2 separate regions of the Homo sapiens genome follow, and region 2 is linked to region 1. The links are contacts of gene promoters, found by promoter capture Hi-C in human tissues and cell types (Jung and others, 2019). All regions are on one chromosome and are shown on one strand. The core of a region is centred on a gene start or on the middle of the fragment in contact, and the rest is flanking DNA. Distances in the headings are between cores, read along the strand shown. Region 1 overlaps DLEU1 (deleted in lymphocytic leukemia 1). Region 2 holds the start of KPNA3 (karyopherin subunit alpha 3).

What was found. The method cuts DNA at HindIII sites, captures the fragments that hold promoters and counts their contacts. A contact is called where the count stands out against the background at its distance.
Region 2: the fragment with the promoter of KPNA3 here is called in contact with a fragment that was not itself captured in region 1 in 1 of the 25 tissues and cell types used here (liver).

The regions. Positions count from the first base shown.
Region 1 is chr13:50,522,237-50,527,361 of GRCh38, reverse strand. The region is part of intron 5 of DLEU1 (deleted in lymphocytic leukemia 1); the gene reads right to left. DLEU1-AS1 (DLEU1 antisense RNA 1) reads left to right here. Exons shown (of 3, transcript NR_125753.1): 1 at 1-83; 2 at 1,355-1,410. Among named protein-coding and RNA genes, the nearest start is that of DLEU1-AS1, 2.6 kb to the left of the region's middle. The HindIII fragment of the contact is 6,383 bases long and covers 603-5,125 here.
Region 2 is chr13:49,790,792-49,795,844 of GRCh38, reverse strand. It overlaps KPNA3 (karyopherin subunit alpha 3), which reads left to right and starts at 3,163. Exons shown (of 17, transcript NM_002267.4): 1 at 3,163-3,407. The coding sequence starts at 3,339. RefSeq lists enhancers at 2,868-2,997, 2,801-3,462, 3,463-4,124, 4,129-4,648 and silencers at 3,068-3,317, 3,438-4,007. The HindIII fragment of the contact is 11,550 bases long and covers 1-5,053 here.

The sequences.
Region 1 (5,125 bases), core at 2,545-5,044:
AAACATGTGCTTGCCAGGGCAGAACATCATCTGATGGCAGCAACCACCTGGTGCTGGCCACGACTGAGGAGGGAACACATCAGGTGAGTGTGGGCCAACCCTTCCTGCACAGAACAGGAGGGCGGGGAGGGGGGGGGATGCTTGATTTTTAGTGGGAAGGATGAGGAAAGCAGTTCTGAAATGTTTTTCACAGAAATAGAAACTAGTGAAATAGAAGCTGGCATTTGACTACTTTAGAAAAAAGAGAGGAGGGTAATAGGGAGGAAAGTGATTGGCTGCTGCTGTCAAACTCAGGAACTTTTAAAATTTTGTTTGTTCCCCCAAAGAAGTGCATGCCCAAACCACCAAGAGAGGGTAAGTGATGACAAGCAGATCTGCAAGGCGGGGCCCCAGTCACAGTAGCAAGCACCCTATCTCACAACAGCCCTGCAACCGGCAAAGTTGCAGCTTCTGCTACAGTGCGCATGTGTGCGGGTCCCCTTCTCCCCTCTTCCCTCTCCCCTCTCCCCTCTCAGCCCATCCTCCTCAGCCCAGATCCCTCCCTGTACCAAGACCATTCCAGCTGCACGCAATAATCAGGCAAGCAACTTCTAACCCAGCCTAGGGGACTCAGACGAGATAATGCTTAATTTTTCTGCAACGCCTTCTTAAGACTCCAGGGATCTGTACCCCAGGATGGAGAATGCTTTCCCAGAAGCACAGCCTGTTTCTCCAGCCTGAGAGTGTGTGCTGCAGAGCTGGGACCCCACCCTGTATCTAAAGTAATTGCTGTATCTAATGGTGTGGTGCTGCTGACTTCCTTACCAGCTGTAGCTTTCTGTTGCCCGACCCTGTTATTGCTGGCTCCTGCTTTATTTTAGGGATGTTAACCTGCTCGTATGTGTCTGCTAGTACCTTGCTGGTAAACTCCATCTTAAAAGCTCTTCAGAGAAGGGCTTTGTGAGTTTTCCTTTTACAGGCCTTTATTGCATTTTTTTTCTCCAGGTTCCTCTCTCTTCCTCCTCTCACTCCTTTCTGCCTGATTAGAGCAGAGGATGTTAGCTTTTCTTAGGGACACCTTACAGCCAGCCAGTCACATTATATGAGAATATGTTGTTCTAAGAGCCTGCCCCTAGGTCACAGATTCAGACCTGTGGAAATGGCCTAGGCTATTCTGAAATGCTCTGATGGGGTTCCAGCATTCAGCCTCCAGCTAAGCTCCATCCTTGTGAGCTATAAGTTGGAATGAGTAAGTAGGTCAAACATCTAATCCTCCCTGTGCCAGCATCCCACCTGAAGGGCATGGCAGAGAAAGGGGAGCATGGGGACCCAACTCATTCACTATCAACAGGTCTTGTTCATTTCTTTTCTCTAGGAAAAAGCAACACTTCTCTCCATCGGGAAGAGGTGGACGCCAAGGCCCCGTTCATTGTAAGCACACCTTCTCCTCTTCACAGAGTACTGTCATTGCTCCCCTATCTGTGCTATGGACCTACACAGTTTAACAGAAGCCCACCAGGGGCTTAGGTGTTCTTTCATCTAAGTAGTTCCAATATCCTCAACCACTACAGTAAGATGTCTACATGGCAAATAAATTCAGGCATAAAATACAGCGTGGGCAGCATATGTGGGTGCTCTCCAGCCACTTCTGGTGGCTGCTTGGACCACTTCATAGAGACTTGTTCCAAGGAACAAGGAGAGGGTTTTGTGAAGTGTTTTGACTCCCACTGAAATGGCTGCTACAAGAGGTTATTTCTCACTGCAGGAGGATTTGGGAATAGGGATAGGGGATAGGAGATTATAAAGCCAGGGGTTTTTTTTGTTTTGTTTTTTGTTTGTTTGTTTTTGTTTTTGTTTTTGAGATGGAGCCTCGCTCTGTGGCCCAGGCTGGAGTGCAGTGGCGCGATCTCGGCTCACTGCAAGCTCCGCCTCCCGGGTTCACGCCATTCTCCTGCCTCACCCTCCCAAGTAGGCGGAACTACAGGTGCCCGCCACCACGCCCAGCTAATTTTTTGTATTTTTAGTAGAGACGGGGTTTCACCATGTTAGCCAGGATGGTCTCAATCTCCTGACCTCATGATCCACCCACCTTGGCCTCTCAAAGTGCTGGGATAACAGGCTTGAGCCACCGCGTCCAGCTATAAAGCCAGGTTTTAAGTCCAGCCCGTTTTGACCAATTTTGTGGCTTTGGGTGTTTCTGAACTACAGTTTCCTTATCAATACAATGAAGACTGAATACACCCTACAGAACCATAGTGAGGTTCACATCACCTAGTGTGAGAAATCGCTTTGTACGCTGGAAAACACCACAAATAAAAAGAGGCTATTGTTATTGGGCTTATTATTCTGAGGCAGGAGAACCAAGGTATAGAAAAGAGAAGTAAGAGTTAGATATCACAGTCTGAGATGCTGGGAGAACAACACAAGCCACTGTAGATCCTCCTAGGACCTTTCTTCTGGAATGTTCTGCGATGACAATGGCAGAAACGGGGGGGCAGCACTGCTCTTGTTAATGATAAAATGGCCAATTCTGCAATTCCATCAGCTGTGATAGAACTCAGTCCAAATCATTTTATTGCTAACCCTCAAATCACCTGACTAGTTATCAACTCATTGGAAAGATAGCGTAGCATTAAGAGCATGGACTATGGGACCTGGCTACCTGGACGTGAGCCCATCTCTGTGTCCCTTTGACTAGACAATTTTAAGTAACTGACATGACTCATCTGTGTTTCAGTATACCCATCTATAACATGGAGATGATAATACTGTCTACTTCATAGTGTGAGAATAAAATGAAAAAGAAATGGAAAGTACTTTGAAAAATTTCTGACATGTATTAATAGTAAGCTAAGTGTAGCTACCACTGTTTTCCAATAAAATAGTCCAATCTTAAAAAACAAAATGTGTGTTCTAAATTGTAGGAGGAGATGGATTCTTCAGGCACGATGGAGAATAAATCCAGTCCCTCTTCCTCCACTCTAGCATGAAGGGTCTACCATGCCAAAATAAGTTAGATTACAGAGTCCGGTGGAGCTAATATAGTGTACATATGCAGTTTGATCCTGGAAAGGAAGAGTGGTGACATTTCCTCTCGCTGGCAGAGCCCAAAACTAGATAAAAACAGGCAGTGTGGCTGAATCTGCGCTCCTGCATCAACTGCTGTGTGACTGTGGATGCCTGACATCTCTCTGTGCCTCACTTCCTAAACTTGCAATGGAATAACAATAGTACCTGCCCTCTAGGGTTGTTGTTTAGAGCAGTCACTGAATAGCTACACAATAAAATCCAGTTATTATTGTTGTTATTAGGATACCATTTGCCATTACCCAACTTTGTGACTCGGGATCTTGAGAAATTGCATAAATTTCATCTTTCAAGTTAAAGTAGAAGAACCAAAAGCCAGACAAATGTAACCTAAAGCCATATGTTTTGTTAAAGACAAGGAAAGGAAATGCCACATCATTATAATCATGTTATTTGGTCATACAGTATGACAGTATCTACAATCATCAATTCATGTCACTTTAAAAAAAATTACAGTGGGTTATTTGAATTAGAAAGCATTTCCATACATGAAAGCTTAATCCCCTTTAGACATTCCTCAATGTTCACAAATAAACTGACCTGGCAGGCATGGGTGCTCCTAGTCTTTGTTTTTAACATCAGGTGTGGAGGATAAGGGTAATAAACAATGTCTACTGATTCTGGTCATTCTGAAATGACACTTTTTTTTTCAGTTTTGCTAGAGCTTGGCACACCTTCATATTTCGAGGCAATGTATCTTCAAGGATCACTCATCAGAATAGTTGCACAAACTCATAAGTGGCAAGAACTGAAAATGCCTTGTGATTTTCAAAGTTTTAAAATAGCCCTATGGGGCTGGTGACCTCAGTCAGGTCAGCCATCAAGTTTGGGATCCGACAATAAAAGTCATAAAGTGAGTCAACTGAGTCAGAGAGGATGCAACAGCATTATTTTTCTCTTCTGGCTTCTCTAGTAAAGCAAAAGTTTTGGTGTTAGGGCTGTCTCTGCAGACAGGGAGTTTGGTTTCCAACACGCTGGGAGCATCCCTGGAGAATGCTGAAAAGCAGAATAGGCTGCCAGAGTCCAAGAGACGATATCAGTAAAGTTAGCACAAGATTTAATAGACTAGAATATACCCGCCCAATCCATTTCTCCAGCCTGATAATCCAGAGCAATTAACAGAAATTGCCCTGGTATTTTTAGCATTTTTAAAGTTTCATCTGGGCAAACGCAGAAATGGATAACTATGTTATCCAGACCTTACCACTGTTTGTTTTTGAGACTCTAAGATTAAACTAAAGACTGGCCTAGCAAAGCAGATATGTTTGCCCTTGCCTGAAAGGAGACAGAAACTTGGGAAGAAACAAGGGTCTTTGGAGTTACTGGGCTTCCACGAGGATCCTCAAGGTTTGCAAACACCAAATGGACAGGACTTCATCCCTGAAGTGCAGGCCAGTCCTACCTCCTTCACAATGACGTGCTGACATCATGGTGCAAATTTGCAAACATTTTTTGCCTTATTAAGAAAATTATTCAAACCTAGAAAAATGCAAGGGTTAAAGCCTTGCTTTCATAAACATAGCCTGTGTGTGTCGCAGGGTGACTTTTAGATATTATATGGAAAAATGCAGTAAAAAGTGCTGAAGTAGCCCATTCCGTTGCATTGAATTGTTAGGCAATTATGGTCATCCCAGCCTTAGTAAATTAAAATACATGATGAAAACCCAATCTAAGGACATCAACTGCTATGTACTAAACAAACTACACATCCCATTTAAAAAGCATTTAAAATTGTGTCAAGAGAGGTTATGTTGGAGGGACTATAATTTTAAAATCATTTACTGTACAACCATATATTTAAATTTTAACTTGAAGCTAAATGTTGCAAAATTAAATTAATCTTATTTGATAACACGAGGCAGTTTATACTCTTTCATTTGGGGTCGATGGAGCCCCTGGCACAGTCTTGAATTTAAGACCCCTACCCCATAGGAATAGTTAACTCTTGATCCTAGCATGCTCTCTCCTCCTGGAAGAGTTATTTAAAGTTAGATGTGTTTCTTTCTGTTTTTTTCTTAGCCACTTTTCTATCCCAAGCCCAGCAAAGACATTCAATTCA
Region 2 (5,053 bases), core at 1,914-4,413, 730 kb after region 1:
TGTGCCCGATGAATACAATGCTTGGTATACAGTAGACACTCACAATATGTGTGGAAAATAAATCCATTTAAAAGAAGAGCTGTCCAGAGAAGTTTCAGGCCAAGGATGATGATTAGAGTGAGGCAAAAGAGAAGGAGATAGTTTCTAACAATGAGAAGCACCAAATTTGAGTCCCTGGAGGTGGTCATTTCCCAGAGATTAAGGTCTCCAAGGTCTGGTGCAGGCTTGCACTTTTTACCACTTGAGTGGTAAAAAACTTGGTGAAGTTAAGGATGTAGAAAGACTGTGGTGTCAGGGTGCCACATTTGTGAATGCTGAAGTTACCAGGGGTACTGGCAAAGAATAAAAATGAGTAAACTAGATCCAGGCAAAAGGGCAGCCCTGCTTTGGACTGGGTGTGAAGAAAGGTGGCATAAAGTAACCTGAAAAGGGAATACCTACTAAATTATAATAGAGACTGAGCAACAGTCTGAAAATTTCTCTTCCATTTAGCCAAGGAGAATGGCAAACACACAAGTTCTGTTTCCTTAAAACCCAGAGTTGAGCTAATGTATTCTTTCTTTTTTCTTTTTTTTGAGACAGAGTCTCATTCTGTTACCCAGGCTGGAGTGCAGTGGCGCAATCTCAACTCACTGCAACCTCCGCCTCCCAGGTTCAAGCGATTCTCCTGCCTCAGCTTCCTGAGCACCTGTGACTACAGGCATGCACCACCATGCCTGCCTAATTTTTGTATTTTTGTAGAGAAAGGGTTTCACTATGTGGGCCATGGTTGGCCAGACTGGTCTCAAACTCCTGACCTCAGGTGATCCTCCCACCTCAGCCTCCCAAAGTGCTGGGATTACAGGCATGAGCCACTGTGCCCTGCCTAATGTATTCCTTCTAAATTCATAGCTGGTGTGTGTGTGTGTGTTTCCCTTCAAATGAGTGGTTAGACTAAGATCAGGTGTTGCAAACTGAGGACCTGATATTCTGAAGTGACTGAAATGCTTAAGTCCATTAACAAAATGTGAATTAACATTTAAAAATAAAGAGAAAAAGAATCTACCTTTTTGGTTTTCCTTGAAAAGTGGAATCTTCTGGCAACACTGGGCCACAGTCCAGTATGACCAGAGGATCTGAAGCCTGTGTTTATCAATAGGCCACACCCCACCACTCACAAGACGAATGCCCCTGGACATAGCTTGGCCACCAAAGGCTTCTGAATTCCTGACTTCTGGGCCTCAGGTTCTTTAAGGCCCTTTCGCTTTTTTTTTTTTTTTTTTTTCTGTATCTCCTCATATATTTATTCTTTTTCTGTGATCAGTGTCCTTTGCATGTTTTTGTTGGGTTGTTTGAATTTTTTATTTTTATTTTTTGGGGATGGAGTCTCACTCTGTCGCCTAGGCTGGAGTGCAGTGACACGATCTCAGCTCACTGCAACCTCCGCCTCCCAGGTTCAAGCAATTCTCCTGCCTCAGGCTCCCAAGTAGCTGAGATTACAGGTATGCGCCATATGCCCGTCTAATTTTTGTATTTTTTTTAGTAGAGGTGGGGTTTCACCATGTTGGCCAGGCTGGTCTCGACCTCCTGACCTTGTGATCCACCCACCTCGACCTCCCAAAGTGCTGGGATTACAGGCATGAGCCACCGCGCCCAGCCAAGGCCCTTTCGCTTTAAAGATTGTCCTTTTTGATCTCTTCATGGTATAGTCCTACCAACTTTTGACCTCAGTTCAATTATAAGTACTACAACATTACATACCTGCTCATGTCTACCATAGATTCTGAAAATTAACATACAAGCAAATGAAGCCCACCTGCTCCAGAAAGTAGCTTTTTGTTTTTGTTGTTGTTGTTTTTGTTGTTTTGTTTGAGACAGAGTCTCCCTCTGTCGCCAGGCTGGAGTGCAGTGGCGCCATCTCGGCTCGCTGCAACCTCCGCCTACCGGGTTCAAGCGATTCTCCTGCCTCAGCCTCCAGGCATGCGCCACCACGCCCAGCTAATTTTTGTATATTTAGTAAAGAAGGGGTTTCACCATGCGGGCCATGGTTGGCCAGACTGGTCTCGGTCTCTTGACCTTGTGATCTGCCCTCCTCGGCCTCCCAAAGTGCTGGGATTACAGGCGTGAGCCACCACACCCGGCCGAAAGCAGCTCTTTATCAGTGTAATCCATCCAAATTTCCCTCTTTCATTCTTTCGATGCCCCCAGAGGGAGTGGGAGTGCTACACAGGAGAGTCTGCGGACCAGGGCTGGGCTGCTGCCTGAAGGCTAAGATTCTGTGTGGTGGTAGAACAAGAAGTGTTGGGGGGCATGTAAATACAGGGACTGCCAGAGTGAAGGTTGCAGAACCGGGCTTGGAAGGATGATGAAGAAACTGGGCGACACTAAAGCGCCAGTTCAACAAGTATTGCGTATCTACGACGTGGTAGGCATTGTTTTGACACTAGAGATTCAGCAGTAATTCAACCAAAGTACCTGCTCTCATTGAGCTGAATTTCCGCGCGGGCACCTAGGTAACGCATATAAACACTCGTATCACATACATACACATGTACATGTCAGGTAGAAATGCTATTTATAAAACTGAAGCAGAGCATGGGAAGAGCGAATGAAGGTGGCTATTTGAGAAGACCCCCAAAAAAGCGAGACTGCAAAGCACTCGCGGTTGTTCCTTTTCTGATCTTCTAGCTACAGGCAGCGAGGTGCGCTCCCAGGAAGGCCCGCCCTCTTCCTCCTGATAGGGCGCAAGGTGCCAGGGACGCTCCCCCGCTCTTCCCCGCCCAGAGGCGGCCTTGTGGGGGCGGAGCTTTGTGCCCAGCAACATGAGCGCGGCGCGCAAAGAGCCGCGCGCGGAAGGGTCCCGGCATTCTCCTCGTTCTCACTAGGCGTGGAGAATTACTCCAGGCGGATCGTGGCATGATGGGAACTGTAGTTGACGACCGCCGCCCCGCGCCTGAGGGGCAGTAAAAGTCGCCAGGTCCGGCTCCATTTCTGGCACAAAACTTGCAGCACCGAGGGGTTGTGGAGAGCCCTTGCAGGGGAAGAGGGCAGGGTCATCCCGAGAACCAACGGGCACGTATAGCCCGGCGAACGCCCAAGCCGGTCACCGCCCCCGGTCACGTGTCGCCAGCCTCCGCGGCCGCGCGCCGCTCTCAGCACCGTTCCCGCCCCACCCGGCCCGGCAGTCGGCCCGCGCCTCCCCCGGCGCTACTGCCACCTCGCGCTCGGAGGCGTCACAGAACGTGCTCTTCTCTCCCCTCCCCCCTCCCGCTCTCCCCCTCCTCCCCCTCCCGCTCCAAGATTCGCCGCCGCCGCCGCCGCAGCCGCAGGAGTAGCCGCCGCCGGAGCCGCGCGCAGCCATGGCCGAGAACCCCAGCTTGGAGAACCACCGCATCAAGAGCTTCAAGAACAAGGGCCGCGATGTGGAAGTGAGTGTGCTTCCGCGGTCTGGGCCCGCCTGGCCGCGCCGGCCCGGCGACGCGGGGAGGGGCGGGGGGCCGGCGCCGGGCTGGTTCTCGTCGGCTTGTGGTCGGCCGGAGTTGGCCGCCGCCTCCCGTCACCGCGGCCCCGGGCTGGGCGGAGCGGGCGGCGAGACGCCGGCCGGGCTGCAGTCACCCCCCGGAGCTGCCGGCGCGGCGACCGGGAAATGCCGGCGTTTTCGGCCCCGTCACGCGGGCGCGGCCTGGTGTCGGCGAGGAGGGGATGTGGAGCTGAGGCGGGGTCCGCGGGCCAGGGCCGCCCGGATGAACGGGGATGCTGCCGCCCGGGCCCTCCGACCGCACAGCCGAGGGGGCGGCCGCTGCTTGCGCCCGCCACCGGTGCAACCTTCCGTCCGGTGCAGCCCCCTCTGCGCCTCCCGCGCGGCTCACATGGAGCCTCGGCTCTGCCGGTCCGGGCTCCTACCTTCTGCGAGCCGGGCCCAGGCGGGCGGTGGCGGCCCGCAGAGGGGGGTGGGGACCAGCCGGGTAACTGACTTGTTTGAGGGTGATCGATGGGGGAGGGTAGGATGCGCCAGGACCATTTTCTTATATTCCAGTGCTCGTCTTTGGACTAGTCGTGCCGAGCTGTTGCAGCTCATACTCCTGCAACTGCTGGCATTTGGAGCGAGCTGAAGGTGGACAATAGTTTGCCATCTATTGTGTTCAGGCTTCGGAAAAGAGGTTGCTCCGACCTCCGCTCATAGGACTTGTTTTCTTAGCCTTTCTTGGAGTGGGGTGTGCATAGGGTGATAATTTCTTTGACACGTTTTACTAAAATAAATTGGATACACAGGTTCATAATTCTCTTACATACCTCTTGCTCCAAGCTAGTAGAATTTCCAAGTGGTTGCAAAACTAAACATTCATCGCGGTCACTCAGTTAGTTGCTACTCAGCATGTTGCCATTGTCTCATTAAGGTGACATTAGCAGGTACTATTTGCAAACTCGGCTTATTGAGGCAGCGCTAGAGGTCTCTCTGCAGCTACTGAAAACAGTAAGTATAATGCACAAACTTCACTGGGACCGTGACCTTTGGATTTGTTAGGGGGAAAATGGTTTTAAGGCCGCAGCCTTCTTTGCTAATACTAGGCGACATGATTTGCAGTTTTGTAATTTTTGATAAGCTAGTGTGATTAAGAGGTGTGTTTTATCCTGTCTTAAGGAAGGTTGTGGGGTAAATATACCATTCAGTGTTCTATTTTGTAGAGAAACAGACAAACTCAGGCCGTTTTTCAGAGCTACAAAATTAAATACTAGTAGGAAAGAACCTAGGGAGATATCCGTGGAATTCCCATTTAAATGAGTCAAATAAAGATCATATATTCTTTCCTGGTCATGGTTAAATACCCTTTGTAAGAAATACATCTAAGCGAAAGTAAAACTTGGGAATAGGAACAAGAAATTTTGGAACTGCCTCCTGTTATTGGTCCACTTGATGACAAGTGTTAATTTTGAACTTTTCCCATTAGGAATTTTTCTTGAAGCCTATCCTGTTCCAAATAAAAATTTATTGAAAAATACTCATTGTTTGTACAGAAAAACCAGTAACATTCTTCTCTCGGATATTGGTACAGGTTTTTGTTTCATTGTTTAC